Linked DNA regions of Homo sapiens: regions 1, 2, 3, 4, 6 and 7 are each linked to region 5. Evidence: promoter capture Hi-C in human tissues and cell types (Jung and others, 2019). All regions are on one chromosome and are shown on one strand. The core of a region is centred on a gene start or on the middle of the fragment in contact, and the rest is flanking DNA. Distances in the headings are between cores, read along the strand shown. Region 1 has its middle 65 kb from the start of LINC01994. Region 2 has its middle 120 kb from the start of LINC01994. Region 3 has its middle 6.3 kb from the start of LINC01995. Region 4 has its middle 93 kb from the start of LINC01994. Region 5 holds the start of SOX2 (SRY-box transcription factor 2). Region 6 has its middle 180 kb from the start of LINC01994. Region 7 overlaps LINC01994 (long intergenic non-protein coding RNA 1994).

Region 1 (2,803 bases), core at 47-2,546, 710 kb before region 5:
CTCAAGTCATCCTCCCACCTCTGCCTCTTGAGTAGCTGGGATTACAGGCACACGCCACTGTGACTGGTATGAAAAGAAAAATTTTTACATGAGGCAAATTAGGAAAGGAAGGCAAGAGTACATCTTGAAAACATTGTATATATATTATATGTCTCATATATTATTGATTATATAAATGTATATTACATACCCATCAGATATCCATATTTGAAAACAATCAAGGATGTTCTGGTTGGTTGTATAACAAGAGGAATCTGCACAGAATAAATGATAATGCTCATACTGCAACCCTAGCATGACAGACAAACATACAAACACACATACCTTTGTACATATAGGTAGATGGACATGTGAAAAAGCACAATGATATAGGGGTGATTTTAAAAGATACTCACACTGAAATTCCCCAGAAAGAAGAATAATATTAGAAAGTGGGAAAGAAAAGTAAAGCCCTTATAAAAGGTACATTAGCCAGGGTTCTTCAGAGGAACAGAACCAATAGGCTATAGATGGAGCGATAGGTAGGTAGGTAGGTAGGTAGATAGATAAATGGATAGATAGGTAGATAGATAGATTAAAAAAAATATTGTGAAGAATTGGCTTACATGATTTTGAAGGCTGGCAAGTCCCACAGTCTGCTGTCTGCAAGCTGGAGAGCCAGCAAAGCCAGTGGCGCAATTTCAGTCTCAGCCTGAGGGCCTGAGATCCAGGGGAGGCCGATGGTGTAAGACCCATTCAGAGTCTGAAGGCTTGAGAGCCGTGAGTGCTGATGTCCAAGAGAAGGAGAAGATGAGTGTTCCAGCTCAAGCACAGGCAGCAAATTCACCCTTTCTCCACCTTTTTGTTCTATTTAGGCCCTCAACAGACAAGGTCAAGTCCACTCACACTGGTGAGGATGATCTTTACTCAGTCTACCGATTCAAATTCTAATCTCTTCTGGAAACATCCTCATAGACACATCCAGAAATAATGTACCAGCTATCTGGGCTTTTCTTTGCCTAGTCAAGTTGACACGTAAAATTAACCACCACAAGTCCACTCCTTGTCACGTTGGTACCCACATGTCTTTTTGTAAATCATGCTTAATCTCCAAATACAGATAATAACAAAATCATTATTTTGCCTAACATGATACAACTATCTTGAATACAAGGGAAAAGGCGCTAATACTAATCCCTCCCCCAAAAGAGGAAGTGAAAGTTCTTGAGTGATGTTTATTCTTCCCCTGATATTCCTTAAATACAATAATATAAAAATAACAGTACTTAAATGCTGCCATAAAGTCAATACATCTTCTGTTATATAATAAGGAAATAAGAACAGAAAGAAAACAAAGATATCTGTTTAATGTGTGTGTATATATATATATATATATATATATATATATATATATGTATATACACAAGTGTATTCATAAAAAATAAGGAGAAAATTCTTATGATAATTAAAGTCTCATTTATGTAACTGGTCACATGATCATAGCTGGTATTTATAACTACCTTCTGCTACTATTCATTCAGTATTCCCCTTGCCTTCAGCAAGCATGTCAGCTGGTCATGGTTCTTTGCCTGATGAGGTGAACCAAACCATTCCTGAAGAATCTGGGCTATTAGTAGCCCTGCCTAGATTGGGCTGTTGTAGTGTTACACTGACCTTTACCACAGGGTGTGGTAATACTAAAAGACTCCCTAAGGGATCTCCTGTATACCAGACATACTTTTCCTTATTTTTGTGGAGGAGTAGTCCAATTTCCCCTTTGTAGCCTGGATCATTCACTCAGGCCAACACTGTAACTCCCTTCTTTTCCTGTTGATTCAGAGGCATAAAGAGCCCAAAGTAGCTGGGTGAAAATCTTAACATGCAGTTCAGTGGAATTATTTTGTTTCTTGCTGGAAGCATTCCTCCTTCCGGAACTAAGATCTCTAGGCCAGCAGAACATAAAGTCACTAGAATAGGAAGCAAAAGTTTGCTAGTGGGTCACAAGGGATAATAATGAGTGGTGACTCTTCCGTTTCCACTCTTTGATCCCTGAACCTATTAATTCTGTCTATTGGATAAACAGCATCATATACTGAATGCTGATTCATAGCATATATAACCTTCTGAAAAACTTTGCCCAAGTCCAGCAAGGTATTGTCTCCAAGGTGACACTTTAACTGAATCTTATTCTTTTTAAAATTTTTTTATTGTTATAGTTTAAGTTCTAGGGTACATGTGGACAACATGCAGGTTTGTTACATATGTATACATGTGCCATGTTGGTGTGCTGTACCAATTAAAACCGCCATTTACATTAGGTATATCTCCTAATGCTATCCCTCCTCCCTCCCCCAACCCCATGACAGGCTCCAGTATGTGATGTTTCCCACCCTGTGTCCAAGTGTTCTCATTTTTCAATTCCCACCTATGAGTGAGAACATGCGGTGTTTGGTTTTCTGTCCTTGGCGATAGTTTGCTCAGAATGATGGTTTACAGCTTCATCCATGTCCCTACAAAGGACATGAACTCAACGTTTTTTATGGCTGCATAGTATTGCATGGTGTATATGTGCCACATTTTCTTAATCCAGTCTATCATTGATGGACATTTGGGTTGGCTCCAAGTCTTTGCTATTGTGAATAGTGCCGTAATAAACATACGTGTGCATGTGTCTTTATAGCAGCATGATTTATAATCCTTTGGGTATATACCCAGTAATGGGATGGCTGGGTCAAATGGTATTTCTAGTTCTAGATCCTTCAGGAATCGCCACACTGTCTTCCACAATGGTTGAACTATCTTACAGTCCCACCAACAGTGTAAA
Region 2 (2,784 bases), core at 37-2,536, 660 kb before region 5:
TGGCTCTTTATGATACCAAGGTGTTTACTCGAGTTAGTTGGAGACGCTTTATTTCAATGCATATTTCAAACAACATTTCTCACAGAGTGTGTCAACACAAATAGGTGTAATACTTTGAATGTTCCTTCGTAGTCATTACCACATACTAAAACTTTGCCTGGTGAGTTCAAGCAAAACTACAGTAAGTTATTTTAGGTTAATATCACTGAATGAAAATGAAAGCTAGTGTTCCATTTTTTCTCTTTGATGCAGTTGTGTGAGATATTAATGTTTGCACAGTGATGTCTCTTTTCCTGTCACTATCTTCAGACACATTATTGTAAAACAAAAACAGCCTATTGATGAGTATTTAAAGTGAGTGGTGTTATCAGATACTTCTTCAATTAAATCTATATTTTTAAAGACATTTTTTCGGTGTTTGGGCCTTCTTGGCAGGGTTCCCTTCCATCATGCTATTACTTGTTTCTACTGCTAAAGGATTGCTTTGTGTGTCCACTGAGCCAATATACTTACAAAGGCAATAGATAACCCTTCTCTTCTTTTGTTTAATAAATGAAAAGTTCAAAACTTTTAGCTTCCAAAGAACCAAAAGGGCCAATACAGTATTTGATAGGCATAGAGTTAAACTTATCTAAGAAAAGAACAGTACAGTGGAGAGTATTTTATCATGTGTAATCATCATCAGGAGGAGAGGCTGGAAAAGTAGCAACTGTGAATGGCAGATCCTGAAGGTTTTGATAAGGCTTTATTTTATGGATTGGAGAACCAAATAGGGTTTTTACTCTATAGAGTGACATTAAATTTGAGGAGGTTAACACATGTGACGGTTATGGCAAATGGATTAGAAACAACATAGAAAGTGGTCTCAAAGTGTTTCCTAGACCAGAACCCACAGGTTAAAAATGTGAATTCTCAGACTCCTACACAGACCTCCTAAATCAGACCCTGGGGGAGTAGTCTATAGTCAATGTGTTCACAATCACTCTGGGTGATTCTGTTGCACACTAAATTTTGAGAATCACTAGACTGGAAGAAGGAAGACTTGACTTGAAGAAGAAACAATTCACAAACTGTCTAAATTACTCAGCATCTAGCACATAGTAGGTACTCAATACCTACTTTCTGAATAAATCAATAAAGCCAAAGGTGACAAATGCCTAAACTAGCAAAGGAAAGGTATGAGAACCAAGAAAGATTTTAGTTCCATTTGCAATTCAGTCAAGAGTAGAATTAGCTTTTAAATGAATGTGATTTTATAAATAATTTATAAAATTTTCTTTTATTTGACAATTTTCTTCCTTTCCTTGTAGTTGCTCATTCCAAACTCAAAATAAATAAAGTAGGAACTTTTGGTAGCTTGTACCTGCTTCTACAGAGGTCCTGGGTACATCTCTTCCACCTGAAAGAAATCACTTGGTTAAGTAATCAACAAGGTGGCATCAGTGTGGCAGGGAATGGTGGCTTAAGTTCTAAGACTATCAGAAAATATGATACTGGGAACTACACAGAGTCCAGGATGGAGACAGATTCTGAGTGGTTAGAGACAGATTCTGAGTGGTTGAAAACAGGAGGAGGGGTCAGGTATTCCTGAAGTTGCATTGGCATTGTTTCTTGAAGAAATTCTAACCTTGCAGCAGAAAGACCAGATATTCAATCATTAATGTCTTTGATTGCTAAAGGTAAATGTTCACTGAGAAAAAGGAAGATGTATCAGTGAGAGAGAGGAACCCCAAAATCTATTCTCTACCAGTCAGTATGCTGGAACTTTACAAACATATCTTATTTAGTCCTCATCACCTCACCACGTGATGTTAATATATCTGTCCTATAAGGTGGGGCCAGAGACAAAAGTTTGTCCAAGGTTAAAGAGCCACAAAGTGGTCACACTGGACTACAAACTCACACAGTCTGACTCCAAAGCCTGCATTTTATCTGTCGATATTCAATAAAATGCATGTGGTTATAGTTTCAGTAACTGTTCTGAAATATTTTATAAAGTATATATAATATTTAAAATAAATATTGAGGATATAGTTGTATGTAGCAAATAAATTGATAGTTTAAATAAAATATTTTAGACTTGAATGTAGGAGTTTCGAACAGAAAGACAATCTCCTGCTATACTGCATGTTGTCTGGGAAAACTGGAAATAAACTGCTGCATTTTGGTCCTCAGTAACTTTAGAGGGAATATAACTTTCCGTCCATCCTGTTTCTTTTTGTGTTTTCTTTATCAAATGTTTTAAAATATATTTGTATGTATTTCAATAGAAACTGTTTTTTCTTTTTGTCAGTGGGATAAAATCAATACATTCCTCTTTTTCCCCCTTATATTTGATGTGTATTTATCTTAAGCTCTGAAATGGCCTAAGTTACACAAGAGACATCCAATTATACTTCCTTAAAGGATGAGGTCTTACAGTGCTCGCATTTCCCCTTCCTCCTACATAGATGTTACTTGTGGGATCACTTGGCAACTCAGTCAAAGCAGTCTTGGATGCAAGAGCTTGATTTGAGCTGGTCTTTGATTGGCTTAGGATCTTAAAAATTGCATTTGTTTTCATTTCCAGTGCAAAAGGGTATCATAATATTTACCTTTTTTTGGGAGTGGTGGTGGTGGCAAGGAATGACTGAATTGGTTAATTAAGTCAAATCATTATGACAACTCATTTTAACTCCTTAAAGGAAAGATATGACATAAGTTAAATACACATTCTACGTATTTTATTCTACAAATGTGCCTTGTAGTGCTAAAAATTTAGAAGTCTTCTGTGTAAAATGGGGT
Region 3 (2,700 bases), core at 146-2,645, 800 kb before region 5:
TAAATTATCAAGAGGCCAGGGTCTTGTGGTTATATCTGGAAATCATGCTGTGTGGGAAGACAGCCACTTCATCTAGTAATAGCTTTAGCCTTCCTGATTCTGACACTGTTTGTTCTCTTTGGAGTTCAGGATTTTGTGACATTTTATCAGGGATACAAAATCTGGCAAACTATGGAGTTAACTGAATTTTAAATATTGATTTCCAGCATGATTTTGCTTCATTTTTATTGGTTTTATAGGGCCAGTAAAATAATTGAGTTATGAATATTTGCCTGAACTGCATAGCAGAGGCATCAGATCTCTCTGACTTGACACTGCAGAGAGAGTGGGAGAGAATGCTGGAGTGAAGCCTCTACTAATCCCTGAGGATGTTGCTTTTTCCCCTGTGTCACAGCACTTCATATTTATGTCTCCATCACTTATCTGAAGGCTGACTTACAGCAGAATAGCATATATTCACATATCCCATTCCAAAGCATTTATTAAGTGCCTACTGTGAGGTGAGCACTGTCTTAGGCATGAACGATTCTGAGATGAGCAGTACAGAGTTCCAGCATCAAGTTTCTTACAGTCTACTAGAGGACACATGTAAGTAAAGAAATTACAAAATGGTGCCTACTAAACGCAATAGAATATTCAAACAGAAGTGGTATGGGAGAGAGACTAGTAAACTGCACAGGGGTTGGGGAGTGAGAAAAATCTTCCAACGAGGAAGTGACATATGAATTTTACATCTGATGGGATTTCCAAGCACACTTGATGAGTCTCATTCTCCCACACTGCAGCAAAGGGTGATCTGATCCATACAGCTGTAGCTCTTCACTAATGATATGAGCCAGCATCCATTGAGAAACCTCTATTCCAGACACTGTCAGGGTGCCACATTTATGATCTCATTAAATCCTTACAACTCTTTGAGGGTGAGTGCTCTCCATTTTATAGATGAAGAACATGAAGCTTAGAGAGTGAAGCTTGTGCAGGGTCATACGGTTGACAGGAGACAGTGCCAGGATTCTAACTCAGATGGGTTCGACCCTGGGCCCAAGCTCTTGCCCAAATAGTGTACATAATCAAGAGAGGCCTCGGGTACAGTACTTGGCACTTTAGACTTTTCACAGTGCTTTCACCTGTTTTGACTCATTTGAACCTCTCTTAAGCATCCCAGGGATGACACTGGCAGGGCATTATCATTCCATTTGAAGACAAGGAAAAATGAAGCTTTAGAGCAGAGAGGTCACACAGTCACACAGTTAGTAAGAGGGAGAGCTGGGCTAGGACTCAGGCTGTTTGACTTCTAGTGTAGTGCTGCTCCCTTCACTGCGGAATGAATGGAGAGTCGGCCACATGCATAGAAGCGATTGCTATGCTCCCCACATGCTGCCCTGCCTTCCACCACCCCATGATCCCACCACCAAGTTTCTGTAATTGATTTAAAAAATCCATAGAAGAGGCTGGGTGCTGTGGCTCACACCTGTAATCCCAGCACTTTGGGAGGCCGAGGTGTGCAGATCACCTGAGGTCAGAAGTTCGAGGCCAGCCTGACCAACATGGTGAAACCCCATATCTACTAAAAATACAAAATTAGCCAGGCGTGGTGGCACATGCCTGTAATCCCAGCTACTCGGGAGGCTGAGGCAGGAGAATTGCTTGAACCTGAGGGGCGGAGGTTGCAGTGAGCCGAGATTGAGCCATTGCACTCCAGCCTGGGCAACGAGAGCGAAACTCCATCTCAAAAAAAAAAAAAAAAATCCTTAGAAGATTTCTCTACACAGACATGCAGACATGCAGGGATGAGGGAGCAGGAAAGATGTCTTCTTTCCTGCACCTGGTAGGGATGGGAAAGACCTAACTTATATTCTTTCTCAAAAATTATTCTAAAGAAGGAGGAATGTAGGCTGTCATGAGTCTAACATGTCACTGAAGAAAATTAGATGTTCTTCAATTTTTATTTTAAAGGAGCAATAAGAGGTGCCATCTCTGCAGATGACACATCATGAGAACTGATAACAGTGTATCACTGAATGTCAATAAACCACAGGTTATTATCAAACAGATTTGGATGGTTAAAACATGGGCTGTAAATGATATTACCATGTAGGCTGAAAGATTAACCATACCCATTAGTCAATGAGGTGAGCCTTGGTCCTACCTTCAGTGGCAATATCTTTAAGGGTTTCCATAGACAAAACTACTTTCTCCTTGTCAAGCCAGACTCCTCCAGGGTTCAAGGTCTCCCCTTTTGTACTTCAGCAAAGAATTCCAAATAAACCTTCATTAGGAACAAACAAAAACTTTCTTCATGTGATTTAAACTGTTCACAGACTTTGAATGTTTAAATCTCACTCTTTTGAAAAAATGTTATCTTATTCGTTTCTTGAAAATTTAATAGCACTCAAAAATTTTTGCTCTAAGGAATATATGGAAAAAAAAAGACATATATGGGAGACCCAAACTTAATTTCTCTTTTACTATGACCTCAGGTTGAAGGCTGAGTTTAGTGAGATGCATTTCACAGATAGAAAAAAAAATATGAGAAAACTCTAAAGGAAATTCACCTTCTTGGAAAGGTAAACTAAAGCACAGATAAATTCACGATATCAAATACAATACAAGTGCTCAAGGGGATACGAAAAAGGCAGTATTGTAATAATATATGAGAAAAATGTTATAAATTGTGAATTGTTATACATATGTCAGGAA
Region 4 (2,833 bases), core at 154-2,653, 680 kb before region 5:
GGAATCTTTGTTTTGTTCACAGATGATCCAGACTTCCTGGAATATAGTAGATGCTCAATAAATAAATGAATATCCAGAGTCCAACAATGTTCCCAATTGTAATTGTTCTCAAGGTTAATCTGCCATCAGATTTTTTTTTGGGACTATAAAAATCATGCACAGCTTTTTGAGAATTAATTTCCCTACTTGTGAAATAGTGATTATGATTGAGTAGGCAGGTGCTTGAGACATTACTTGCTCTTTCTCCAAAACTTTAATGACAAAATCCTTCAAGCTAATACTTTATGCACAGAATTCTCCATTCTAAAATCAAAATGGTCTGGGACAGAGAGTAACTGCTTTTGTTTCTCACCAGCATTAAGATGATCAACAGCTGCTAGCACTGCTGTATATTTTAAGTCACAGTTTGGAAATGAAATCAGTGACTGGCATCACCAATCCTTATTATCCGATGAACTATTGAATGAAACTTGTTTTTTATTCCATAGTAGTGCTTTGGAAAGGAGGACAGGCAAAGATTCATCCTTATGGTTAAACAAAATTGCAAAATTGTCGCCTGTAAAAGACATCTTTTTCTATTAAGAGATGCAAAGGCCTGGAAAGTGGGGAGATGGTATTTGCCTAGCATATGATTCCTCTGGAAATATTTGGATCAGACATGGCTAAGAATTCACACCTGTAAAATTCTTCCTTCCTTCAATCCCTGTAACTAATTTATCATCCTATTGTTGTGTTTGAATTAGCAGAAGTAAACCACAAGGCAACTGCTTGTCAAGAGTGCTATATCCATCTGAGGAGGAAAGTATTAAATTAGACCGGTGACAGGAAAGAATGGGAGCTTCCCATGCAGACCTGGCTGCCTGAAATCTGTAAAAGTTGTCAGTTATTTAGAGGATTCTCAGCAATGACAGGAGAGAGGCAGAGGGGGAAGTATTCAGGTTGCATTTCTGGGCGGAGTTCCTTCTACTCTAAACCTAACACTCTGAGAGCTGAAACTTGGCCCCTTTGCGAGATTAGGCTTCCCAAATTAGCTGTCTTTGGTGACAGCAAAAATACCTGCCTGTCCCCTTAAGCAAGACTCTCCACCTGAATGAGAAACCAGAAGCATGGCCCAAGCCCAGAACAGGTGTTTAACGGGGAAGCTGAAAGGTAGCAGGCTTCCACATGCAGAACGTTTGAGTCCATTGCTGTGGGGATTTGGCTGCATGATAAGCTTTTATTACAGTTAAACAAAATTAAAGGCAGAGTCTATAATACTGGCACAGAAGCTAAAAGGGGCATATTTGCTGGCTCACTTGGGAATCCTAAGTTTTGTTACATTTTTAGAAAGTGGGCATCTTTAATTGCCGTCAAAACCTGTGGTGAGACATAATGTTTATTTGTTTGTCAAGATGTTTCCAAATGTATTGCTGTTATTCTTTTTTTAAAAAACTGTACTTCAGTATAAATTCTATTAGTTGTTCTAAATAATACGTGACATATTGGAGGCAACCTCACATTTATGGACTTATTTTATTCACAAAGTACCTATATGAGGTCGGTAGGCTGAGGAGCATTATGATTACCTATTTTATAGACGAGGAAGTTAAGGCGATATGGAGAAATGATCTTATGTCTCTTTTTCTGAAAGTTTTATTCTGAGAAAACAAGTAACATCCCACTAGAAAAGTACAGATTTTGTCACAAAGACAGATTATAAAATCACAGGAAAGAAGCTGTAATTTTTTTGCCACTTCTTCAACTTAAAGTGGATATCCACAGCATTCATTCTCACTTCCCTCATTGTTTTCCTTTACACTCACTGTACAATCTAAACATACAAATGTATTTGCATGCTGCTCATTCCCTGGTCCCTCTCCCCTTTAAAGTGTTAGCACCATCAGGGCAGGCACAGTGTGGCTTTGCTGCTGTTCCAGTACCCAGTAACCCTGCTTGGCACCTAATAGGTGCTTGAAAACGTCTCTTCAAGGAACAAATGCTTAAAGAGTAAACATAGCAATATATTTATATTTGAAAGTATCAAAAAGTCAGAATATGGAGAAGTTTGGGAAGAATTAGTCCAGGTGGAAAAGAAATAAATCCTCTCCATTTGCTTGAGACAATTACAACTGTATAAACAATTATACATATCTCTCTTTTTTTCTTTTTTGACTTTGCCACTATATGTAAAACAAGGACTAGGAGCAGGGGGTATGCAGGCAATGCTGGCAGTTCTTAAGGAGTTATAAGCAGGAAGATAAGAGCTGTCTTGTGAGGAGTTATTATGTGGGGCCTTACACAGGGGCTTTGAATGTCCTGAAAAGTCCCAAAGTTGTGTACAGGCTTAGGTGAAGAGATTCAAGGTGAATTTAAGGAAACATCCTATCTTAACTCGAGTGTGAAAAGAAGCCTTGGTGGGTTGTAAAGAGTCATTAACAGGAGGTACGTGAGGAACGTGTTCAGTAGAAGACTAACAGGAAGCTTGTAGATTAGGAGTCTGCTCTCAGCTCTTCCCTGGACTGGCAGTGTAGCCTTGGTAAAGTCACTGAGCTACTCTGGGCCATCATTTCAGAGTTTGAATTAGAAAAGAGATTTTCCAGCTCTAAAAATCCATGCTGTTTTTACTCCTCCAAGTCTTGCTCTATGTTCTGTATTCTTTCTAGAAAAAGAGTCCTTATATATTTAATATTTGCACTTCACTGTTTTAATAAAAGTTGTTTTCGTGGGGGAAAAAAAAAAACTATATTTCTTTGTGAACTATACCTGCAGGAAGCCTAGCTGTTTGAACCATGAGGCTCTAAAAAAGGCTCAGGAGTCCACCTGGTGGTTTCTTACCCTAAATGCAAAATAAATG
Region 5 (2,700 bases), core at 141-2,640:
TCACATGTGTGAGAGGGGCAGTGTGCCGTTAATGGCCGTGCCGGGCACCGGGCCGCTCTGGTAGTGCTGGGACATGTGAAGTCTGCTGGGGGCGGCGGGTTCCGGCACCTCGGCGCCGGGGAGATACATGCTGATCATGTCCCGGAGGTCCCCGGCCTGGCAGGGCGCCCTGGAGTGGGAGGAAGAGGTAACCACAGGGGGGCTGGAGCTGGCCTCGGACTTGACCACCGAACCCATGGAGCCAAGAGCCATGCCAGGGGTGCCCTGCTGCGAGTAGGACATGCTGTAGGTGGGCGAGCCGTTCATGTAGGTCTGCGAGCTGGTCATGGAGTTGTACTGCAGGGCGCTCACGTCGTAGCGGTGCATGGGCTGCATCTGCGCTGCGCCGTGCGCATTGAGGCCCGGGTGCTGCGGGTAGCCCAGCTGGTCCTGCATCATGCTGTAGCTGCCGTTGCTCCAGCCGTTCATGTGCGCGTAACTGTCCATGCGCTGGTTCACGCCCGCGCCCAGGCCGGCGCCCACCCCGACCCCGCTCGCCATGCTATTGCCGCCGGGGGCCAGCAGCCCGCCGGGCAGCGTGTACTTATCCTTCTTCATGAGCGTCTTGGTTTTCCGCCGGGGCCGGTATTTATAATCCGGGTGCTCCTTCATGTGCAGCGCTCGCAGCCGCTTAGCCTCGTCGATGAACGGCCGCTTCTCCGTCTCCGACAAAAGTTTCCACTCGGCGCCCAGGCGCTTGCTGATCTCCGAGTTGTGCATCTTGGGGTTCTCCTGGGCCATCTTGCGCCGCTGCCCGCGGGACCACACCATGAAGGCATTCATGGGCCGCTTGACGCGGTCCGGGCTGTTTTTCTGGTTGCCGCCGGCCGCCGCCGCGGTGGAGTTGCCGCCGCCGCCCCCCGAAGTTTGCTGCGGGCCCGGCGGCTTCAGCTCCGTCTCCATCATGTTGTACATGCGGGCGCTGTGCGCGGGCCCGGCCCGCCGGCGGCCGCCGACCCTCGGCCCGGCCGGGACTTTGGGGGGCCCGCGGGCGGGGGGAGAGGAGGAGGGGAGGCGGGCGGGGGTGTCGGGAGCGCAGGGCTCCGCGAGGAAAATCAGGCGAAGAATAATTTGGGGGAAAAAAAGAGAGAGGCAAACTGGAATCAGGATCAAAAAAAGCGCTTCCCTCCTCCTCTGGCCGATCCTGCCGCCGCCGATGATTGTTATTATTATTTTTTGGAAAGGCTTAAGCCTGGGGCTCAAACTTCTCTCCCTTTCTTTCTCTCTCCTCTTCTTTCTCTCAGTCCTAGTCTTAAAGAGGCAGCAAACTACTTTCCCCCTTTTGCAAACACTCTCTTCTCTGCCTTGACAACTCCTGATACTTTTTTGAACAAGTTAATAGACAACCATCCATGTGACGGGGGCTGTCAGGGAATAAATGGGTTTCTAGCGACCAATCAGCGCGCGGCGGCTCCTCCACTCGAGCCCAGCCTCGCTGCCGGGTTTTGCATGAAAGGGGGCGGGGCCTCCCGCGCCGCCGGCCGCGCGGGGGAGGCCGGGGGAGGAGGGGGCAGGCGAGGAGGGGGAGGAGGCTCCCAGAGCCAGCCTGCCAGCCACTGAGAAACCTTTGTATCCCCTCTCGCAGCAACAGGTCACACCACACGCCTTTTCGAAGGAAGTGGGTAAACAGCACTAAGACTACGTGGGTTTTTTTTTCTTTAAACTTAATATTGATTTACTTTTTGGTGCAGGGTACTTAAATGAGGATGGGACGCGGGAAGCAGCTAAGGTGCGGGGGTGGGGCAGGGCACAGTGGGTGGCTCAGGGCGGCTGTCCAACTCGTATTTCTGGAAACAGCCAGTGCAGGAGTTGGTGTGTCATTGTTCTCCCGCTCATCCACAGCACTCCCCCCCAACTCCAGCCCCTCTGGTGCCGCTCCCGTACTGCGCTCTTCCGCTCTCCTCTCTTACCTTACAGGTGCCAACACTCTCTCACGCCCTTCTCACAGTCCCGACTAGAAGTTAGGAGACCCAAACCTCTGTCCTCAAAACCTTCCTTGCTTCCACGTAACTTGCTCTGTTCTTAAAAATAAATCCTGCTCGGACCATAAGGCAGACTCTAGAGCTGAGAACCAGCAGGCCTTGGTAAGCTGCCATCTCCCTGTCCAACTCAGCTCTTTGGCCCAGGAAACTGCAGCTCTTCCTCTTAGCCCCAGCCACATCTCCCACTAGACTGTCTTCATTCAACCGTAGCAAAGGGGATGCTTCTACTGTCTGCCCCCACTCCCCATTCCCATCCCATGCCTCCCCGTAAGAAGGGTTTCGGTCGTGCGGCTTTCAAATGGGGGCTGGGGAAAGACACAGACGGAAGGGCGCTCAAAAGTGCAGGCGATGGGGGAGGGTGATTTCAACTTCCTGGCATCCCACGGCACTGTATGGAGGTGGCTTTTGGGCCGCAGTCACAAACTCCCTCCCACGCAGAGTTCCCAGGACTCCAGCAGAACCAGCCCTGGCATTTTCCCCGTAGATTTCCATTGTGGTGGCCGCAAAGCCCAGGCCGCGCAAGGCTGGGGCTGCGCCGCAAAGGGGCTCAAGGCCTGGGAGGCGGGGTCGATGCTCTCCAGGCACAGGTGCAGGCAGCGCACACTGGGAGAAGGCGGCCGGGACTGGGGAAGGGGGAGCCCAGCAAGGCCCGGGTTAGAGGAGGATGAGATGGGGGCGG
Region 6 (2,700 bases), core at 88-2,587, 590 kb before region 5:
GTTTAAATTTTTTAATACGTAAACTCTGTCCCCAAAGCAAACACTGTCTTCACAAATCAGTGACCTCAAGAAAGGAGTCTTTTTTTTCCACTTCCCAATAATTTATAAAGCATATTAAATTCCAATCTGTTCATTGATTTTCACATCAGATTAAAATAAATGGCTAGAAAGATTTTTACTGCCTTTGAAGAATGTGTTTGGGATTATCTCACTTGATTCATAAGCTAATGTGAATTATACATTGGGGACCCCCAAAAAGATATAGGCAGTTATCTTCTGGATAAATAAACTGGGGCATCCAGGAAAGACCTGCAGAAGAAACCCAGAGAACAAAGAAAACAGAGCAGGTATCCTGTAGGAGCCCCAAGCTAACATCCAGAGAGCACACCCCATGCAAGTGTGACTTGCAGTTGAACGGCTTTTTCTTCTTCTTTTATTTTACTTTAAGTTCTGGGATACATGTGCAGAATGTGCAGGTTTGTTACGTAAGTATACATGTGCCATAGTGGTTTGCTGCACCCATCAACCCGTCATCTAGGTTTTAAGGTCCACATGCATTAGGTATTTGCCTTAATGCTCTCCCTCCCCTGGACCCCCACCCACTGACACGCCCCAGTGTGTGATGTTCCCTTCCCTGTGTCCATGTGTTCTCATTGTTGAACTGCTTCTTATATGGGCAGTTCTGTGTGTTGTGCTCTGGGATGAATTACAGCTGGAATTTATTTACTTAAGTATGGTTAATGATTTTATAATATTTTGGATTATTTTATTAGTAACACTCTGGGCTCTCTCTAGTTGTGAAACTTGGCTTCCCTCTCTCAGGATTAACTGATCATTGCCTTAAATTCCTCTGTTTCTTCTAATTATTAAGGTGTGTGTGATGGAACTAGGCTAAAAAACACCAGCAGGCACCATGCATGGCCATGCATTAGGAGGTGTTGATGGTTAACAGCTAGGGAGGCTCTACATCTCAAGCCAGGAGAGTCCTCATTTAAATCTGTTGTTTGTGCCCAGTTATTAATGATGCCCTCTTTCTCTTTCAGAAGTTTCCTAGTTTAGACAATAAATTATATGGTCACCCTAACATCGGCTACCATGATTTACAAAATCTGAGTTGAGTCCTGAGAGGTCATCAAGGCCCAGAGACCAGACTTTAAATATTGGAAGCTTTAACAGCCAACCTCGCCACCCTTGCTCCAGGCCACAGCCTCTCCTTCAGGAGCTGCCCACTAGGAGTGCAAGCCAGGAGCCTCTCTTGCCAGAGCAGGCAGAATTTCTCCATCCTGAAGCCTAACAAGCCATAATGGTTTCTCAAAGGTCTAGGGTTTCCCACTGTAGCCAAAAGGGCAGATAGGGCTCATTCTCAGGGACATAGTATCTTATTAATCTCCCTATGTCTCTCATGCCTGCTATTGCTGCTCAGTGTTCTAGATGCAAAAACCTCTTGTCATCTAAGCCTTCGTACATCACCCCTGGCTCTGTGCTTTTGCTTCTCCACCTAGTCTCCCATGCTCCTGCCCTGATGCTTGTCTATCTCCCCAGGGTGATGGCCAGGCTCATGAAGGCAGGTACCACTCACCGAAATCCTTTGTAGCCCCAGCACCCTGCACCTAGAAGACACTCCATAATTGTTTATTAGTTATGCCAATGTTTATGAACCAAATATATCCCCCACCGTCTCATGCCCATGCCATTCTCCCCTTCCAGCTAATATAAAATGCCTATAGAAAAACATTATTCATTTTTGAAAAGCTTATATATTTTTTACATCTGTCTTCCATATCTTATCGTAAAAGGAACCAACGTTAAAAAAATTTTAAGTATTAAAACGCTCTGAAAGTTCATAAAGCTTCCTAAAGAAGCTAATATGAAAACATTTATGAATAATTTGAAAGTTGTATTTCATTTGATTAGACTGAAGACAAAGGCAGTGTCTTCAGGAAGGCCACTGACATACACACATACACACACTCTCTTTATATACATATACACATATTACTTGGAAAGGGAAGGAGGGCTAAGCAGATAGTCTTCTCTCAACACAGTGTGGCTTTGTTTGCCTTCCTGGCTACTTGCCACCTTGGAGTGCCCTGAGTCCTGAGGAGATGGGACCAAGGATAAATGCTTGATTGTAGATTCCTTAAGGCCAGGGTCTGATCGTTTATCATTTGTCTCTGTAGTAACTGAAATGTGGCAGGTAATCATTTGATAATCTTTCCTTAATAAAGAGGATGGTGGCAAGAAAGGCCCACAGTTTCCAGCACAGTCTGGGGATTTTTATATGAGGCATTCTGAGTGCTACAGGAATCAGTACAAAGGTGCTCTCAAGGAACATTCGATGGTGTAGTTTGGGATTGGCCCTATGGATTGTATCTTCCTGGAAGACCAGGGCATGGCCAGGGACTAGATCTTATTTGGAACAAGAAAAATTCCTACTTTTCTGTGGCACCTGACAGGGGCCAGACATGTGCTGGCCTTTTTCCCTACCTTACCCGAACTCAAGAGATTTCATTGCCAAAACACTAGGCTGTTTCCCTAAACCACCAGACTGACTGTGTTGTTCACTTTGCCTCTATCACCTTTCCCACCCACTAAAACACTTCTTCACAGGTCAGCCCAGGCATTGTGCATGGCAGAAGCCTCCACTAAGAATTCACCACCCCACCTCTTCCATGTTCTCATGCCAATTTGAGCGTAACT
Region 7 (2,756 bases), core at 7-2,506, 770 kb before region 5:
GAGTTTTGAGGGGCTTGGTGTTGATTCCATGAGCATGTGGCCAGATTCTGAAAAGAAGATCCCCATTGATATCGCAGTATAGTCATGAACGGCCACAATGGACTGGACCAGTGAGTTAAGGGTAACTTTTGCTTTACTTTGCCATTCGTTGGGCTGGGTTATTAAACTAGATTGACCCTAAATTCCTTTCACCTAGTGCTTCCTTTTTGGAAATCAGTAGGGATCATTCAGAAGAAGAATGTAAGCATAGACATGCTGACTGGATCAACATGGTATAATGGAAAGAGCTTGGGGTTGTACTGATTTTGGTATGCTTACTGGGCAGTTTCTTCCAGTCTAAAATTGGAAGTGTAACACCAGCTCCACAAGGTTTTTGGGAAATTTAAATCTAGAAGGCCCCATTTAATGCCCATGCCCATGAATGTCAGTTCTTTGCCCTTACCTACTTTCACTTCTCCTGCCCGAGCCCTACCACATACTGTCTTCATAAATAGTATGTTGCCAAGTTGGCTGGAAATTGTAAAATAATGGCAAAAATGTGCAATAACAACTCTGGAGAAAGAGATGAGATAGGGTTGGAAAGCTGATAAGTGAATCTTCAGCCACTTCCTCCTCCCTTCAGATAGCGTGGGTTTGGAGTGAAGTGTGGGCCGGAAATTTGACAATTGGCTAGATCTGTGGCTCGTGAACTCTGCCTGGCATGAACACTTCTATTTCAGCACATCTGTGATTGCCATATCACCAGCATTTGCAGAAATGGAGGATTAATTTTATTGTGCATTAGCTCAGCAGATCTGGTGACATAATATTGCACTACGAAGAAGGATTACTCACCAGTTTCTGGATGCTACATTTTTAGAAACTAACTCCACTTAACGATAAGTGTTGGATCTAACAACTTCCCCCTTTTCCCCACTCCCACTCTCCAATCACCCAACCAACAAATATTCCTTAATGTAAAAACCAGCTCTCATGGGACCAGATGGATACAATTTTTCTTCAGGAAAAAATTCTGGATATTTCCCCAAAGTAAAAATTTTATAATACTTCTTCATTTATTAAAAACAGATGTGCCATGTTTATAATATCACTCCAAGCCCCCCTTTTTTTGGTTTATGGAAAGCAATTTGGGAAGGTAAAATAATATAGCATTTGTGAGTCATTTCTGAAGAAAAAATGCAAAAACTGTACAGTAGTCTGCAAGCCAGACAGGGGATATGGTCATAAGGAAATATGGCTACATCCCAGGGCAAACAAAGAGGAGACTTTGTTTCTACTTCTGTCGTACATCTACTCAGGGTTTCGACATATCCTTTTTTCACCTATGACCTCCATCTGCAGAAAAAGAGACTCAGAGACAGGCTGTTAGTAAGGTCTAGTGGCTGGCAGAACTCAGTCGCACACTGCATCCTATAATCTTCCTACTTGCCACTAAGCCAGTACCATTTCCCTTACCTGTTGTCTTTTTTAAAGAACTTTTCCCCCATCCTCATCTAGGCTACCTCACAGAGCCTTCTTTTTCTCCAGGTAGCACACCTTAAAAACTATTCCTTCCTTTCTCTATAGCCTCTTTGTCCATTCTGTCATTTCTACTTGCTGATGTTTAACCAGCTGCTGGGCTACTGTGTCACTTAGGTAGCTGTATTTAAAGTCCATGGAGTGCGGAGTATACAGTGAGTAGGGCCCTGTGGACAAATGCAGAAATGAAATGTGCGTGTGCGTGTTCTTTATTGGGTGCTTATTGCATGCCAGGCACTGCCCTAAGTTAGTTTTTAGAGTTCGTTGTATTTAATTTTCACAATTTTCTATGCGGTATGAGTTTGGACAGACCTGCATTTAAACCCTGCTCTATCATTTACTTGTAAAAATATGTAAGCTTTAAGTAGGCAGTATCCATATTTTTATGGCTAATTCCTGTAATTTCTATTTGTATGGTTCAACAAAACAGCTTTATCTCTTATATAGCCAGGGAAGATTTTTAAAAAAATTATTAAAAATATTCTGTCAATATTCTTTGTATTTGAAGCTCTGATGGCAAAACTGGATATATGCCATATTCATTTTTTTAACAACATAAAGTACAAAGAAAGTGATAAAAAGTACACAAACTGCTCTAATTTAGTCTATGCAAGGAGCAGACAGTAAAATATAATGGTCTACTTATTCTTCTGTGATTGACAGCCAATCCTTGGAGCAATTTGCACTCTGATCAGATAGCAGGTTTTCTCCCATAACCTTGAGGTCCAAGTCTCTCTGCCCTTTATTGTGAAATTGTCTGCCCTTTGACCCTTTGAAAAGGTGGAGTCCCACATCTTCTAAAAGCCTTCCCTCAGTCCTGCACTGATGTGTACAGTAAATGACTGATTGTCTCCATTATATGACCATGGCAGGCACAGAGAAATACCTAACTCATTTTAGCAAAACTTATCCTAATTGGAACCATAATCAAAGATAACTGGAATACTCCAGAAACTTACCTGGAGACCTGGATTTGGTGTCTTTTGAAGTTTTGGTAAAATAAGTGGTACCTTCTTTATGCTCGTATTTTCTTTCCTTCCAATAGGGGAGTGAGGAAGAAAAAAAAAATTGAAAGGAAAGCTAAAGCATCTCTTCTTGCACAACCTTCCCTTCTCTCTTTCTCTGTAGCAGAAGGTGACACTGGGCTGCTGGGCTGGTTCAGAGGATTATGCACATAAAGTCCTTATCACCTGTGCTATTTAAAGTGGAATGGAAAAGTGCAGCTGAAAACATCCTGG

The links. Contacts are between HindIII fragments. The study calls those that stand out against the background at their distance.
Region 1: a fragment that was not itself captured here is called in contact with the fragment with the promoter of SOX2 in region 5 in 1 of the 25 tissues and cell types used here (lymphoblastoid cells).
Region 2: a fragment that was not itself captured here is called in contact with the fragment with the promoter of SOX2 in region 5 in 1 of the 25 tissues and cell types used here (lymphoblastoid cells).
Region 3: a contact is called between a fragment that was not itself captured here and the fragment with the promoter of SOX2 in region 5, in 1 of the 25 tissues and cell types used here (lymphoblastoid cells).
Region 4: a contact is called between a fragment that was not itself captured here and the fragment with the promoter of SOX2 in region 5, in 2 of the 25 tissues and cell types used here (dorsolateral prefrontal cortex and lymphoblastoid cells).
Region 6: a fragment that was not itself captured here is called in contact with the fragment with the promoter of SOX2 in region 5 in 3 of the 25 tissues and cell types used here (dorsolateral prefrontal cortex, hippocampus and lymphoblastoid cells).
Region 7: a contact is called between a fragment that was not itself captured here and the fragment with the promoter of SOX2 in region 5, in 2 of the 25 tissues and cell types used here (dorsolateral prefrontal cortex and thymus).

What each region holds. Positions count from the first base shown.
Region 1 is chr3:182,419,749-182,422,551 of GRCh38, reverse strand. No RefSeq gene overlaps it. Among named protein-coding and RNA genes, the nearest start is that of LINC01994, 65 kb to the left of the region's middle. The HindIII fragment of the contact is 6,103 bases long and covers 1-2,803 here.
Region 2 is chr3:182,366,733-182,369,516 of GRCh38, reverse strand. No RefSeq gene overlaps it. Among named protein-coding and RNA genes, the nearest start is that of LINC01994, 120 kb to the left of the region's middle. The HindIII fragment of the contact is 5,801 bases long and covers 1-2,784 here.
Region 3 is chr3:182,512,069-182,514,768 of GRCh38, reverse strand. No RefSeq gene overlaps it. Among named protein-coding and RNA genes, the nearest start is that of LINC01995, 6.3 kb to the right of the region's middle. The HindIII fragment of the contact is 5,075 bases long and covers 1-2,700 here.
Region 4 is chr3:182,392,352-182,395,184 of GRCh38, reverse strand. No RefSeq gene overlaps it. Among named protein-coding and RNA genes, the nearest start is that of LINC01994, 93 kb to the left of the region's middle. The HindIII fragment of the contact is 3,745 bases long and covers 1-2,833 here.
Region 5 is chr3:181,710,615-181,713,314 of GRCh38, reverse strand. It overlaps SOX2 (SRY-box transcription factor 2), which reads right to left and starts at 1,390. Exons shown (of 1, transcript NM_003106.4): 1 at 1-1,390. The coding sequence starts at 954. The coding sequence ends at 1. The region is part of intron 6 of SOX2-OT (SOX2 overlapping transcript); the gene reads right to left. RefSeq lists enhancers at 1-400, 401-1,254, 1,255-2,107, 2,108-2,700, a silencer at 1,490-1,549 and a promoter at 1,129-2,162. The HindIII fragment of the contact is 19,833 bases long and covers 1-2,700 here.
Region 6 is chr3:182,302,724-182,305,423 of GRCh38, reverse strand. No RefSeq gene overlaps it. Among named protein-coding and RNA genes, the nearest start is that of LINC01994, 180 kb to the left of the region's middle. The HindIII fragment of the contact is 3,492 bases long and covers 1-2,700 here.
Region 7 is chr3:182,478,024-182,480,779 of GRCh38, reverse strand. All of the region lies in intron 1 of LINC01994 (long intergenic non-protein coding RNA 1994), which reads left to right. Among named protein-coding and RNA genes, the nearest start is that of LINC01994, 7.0 kb to the left of the region's middle. RefSeq lists a silencer at 465-759. The HindIII fragment of the contact is 3,538 bases long and covers 1-2,756 here.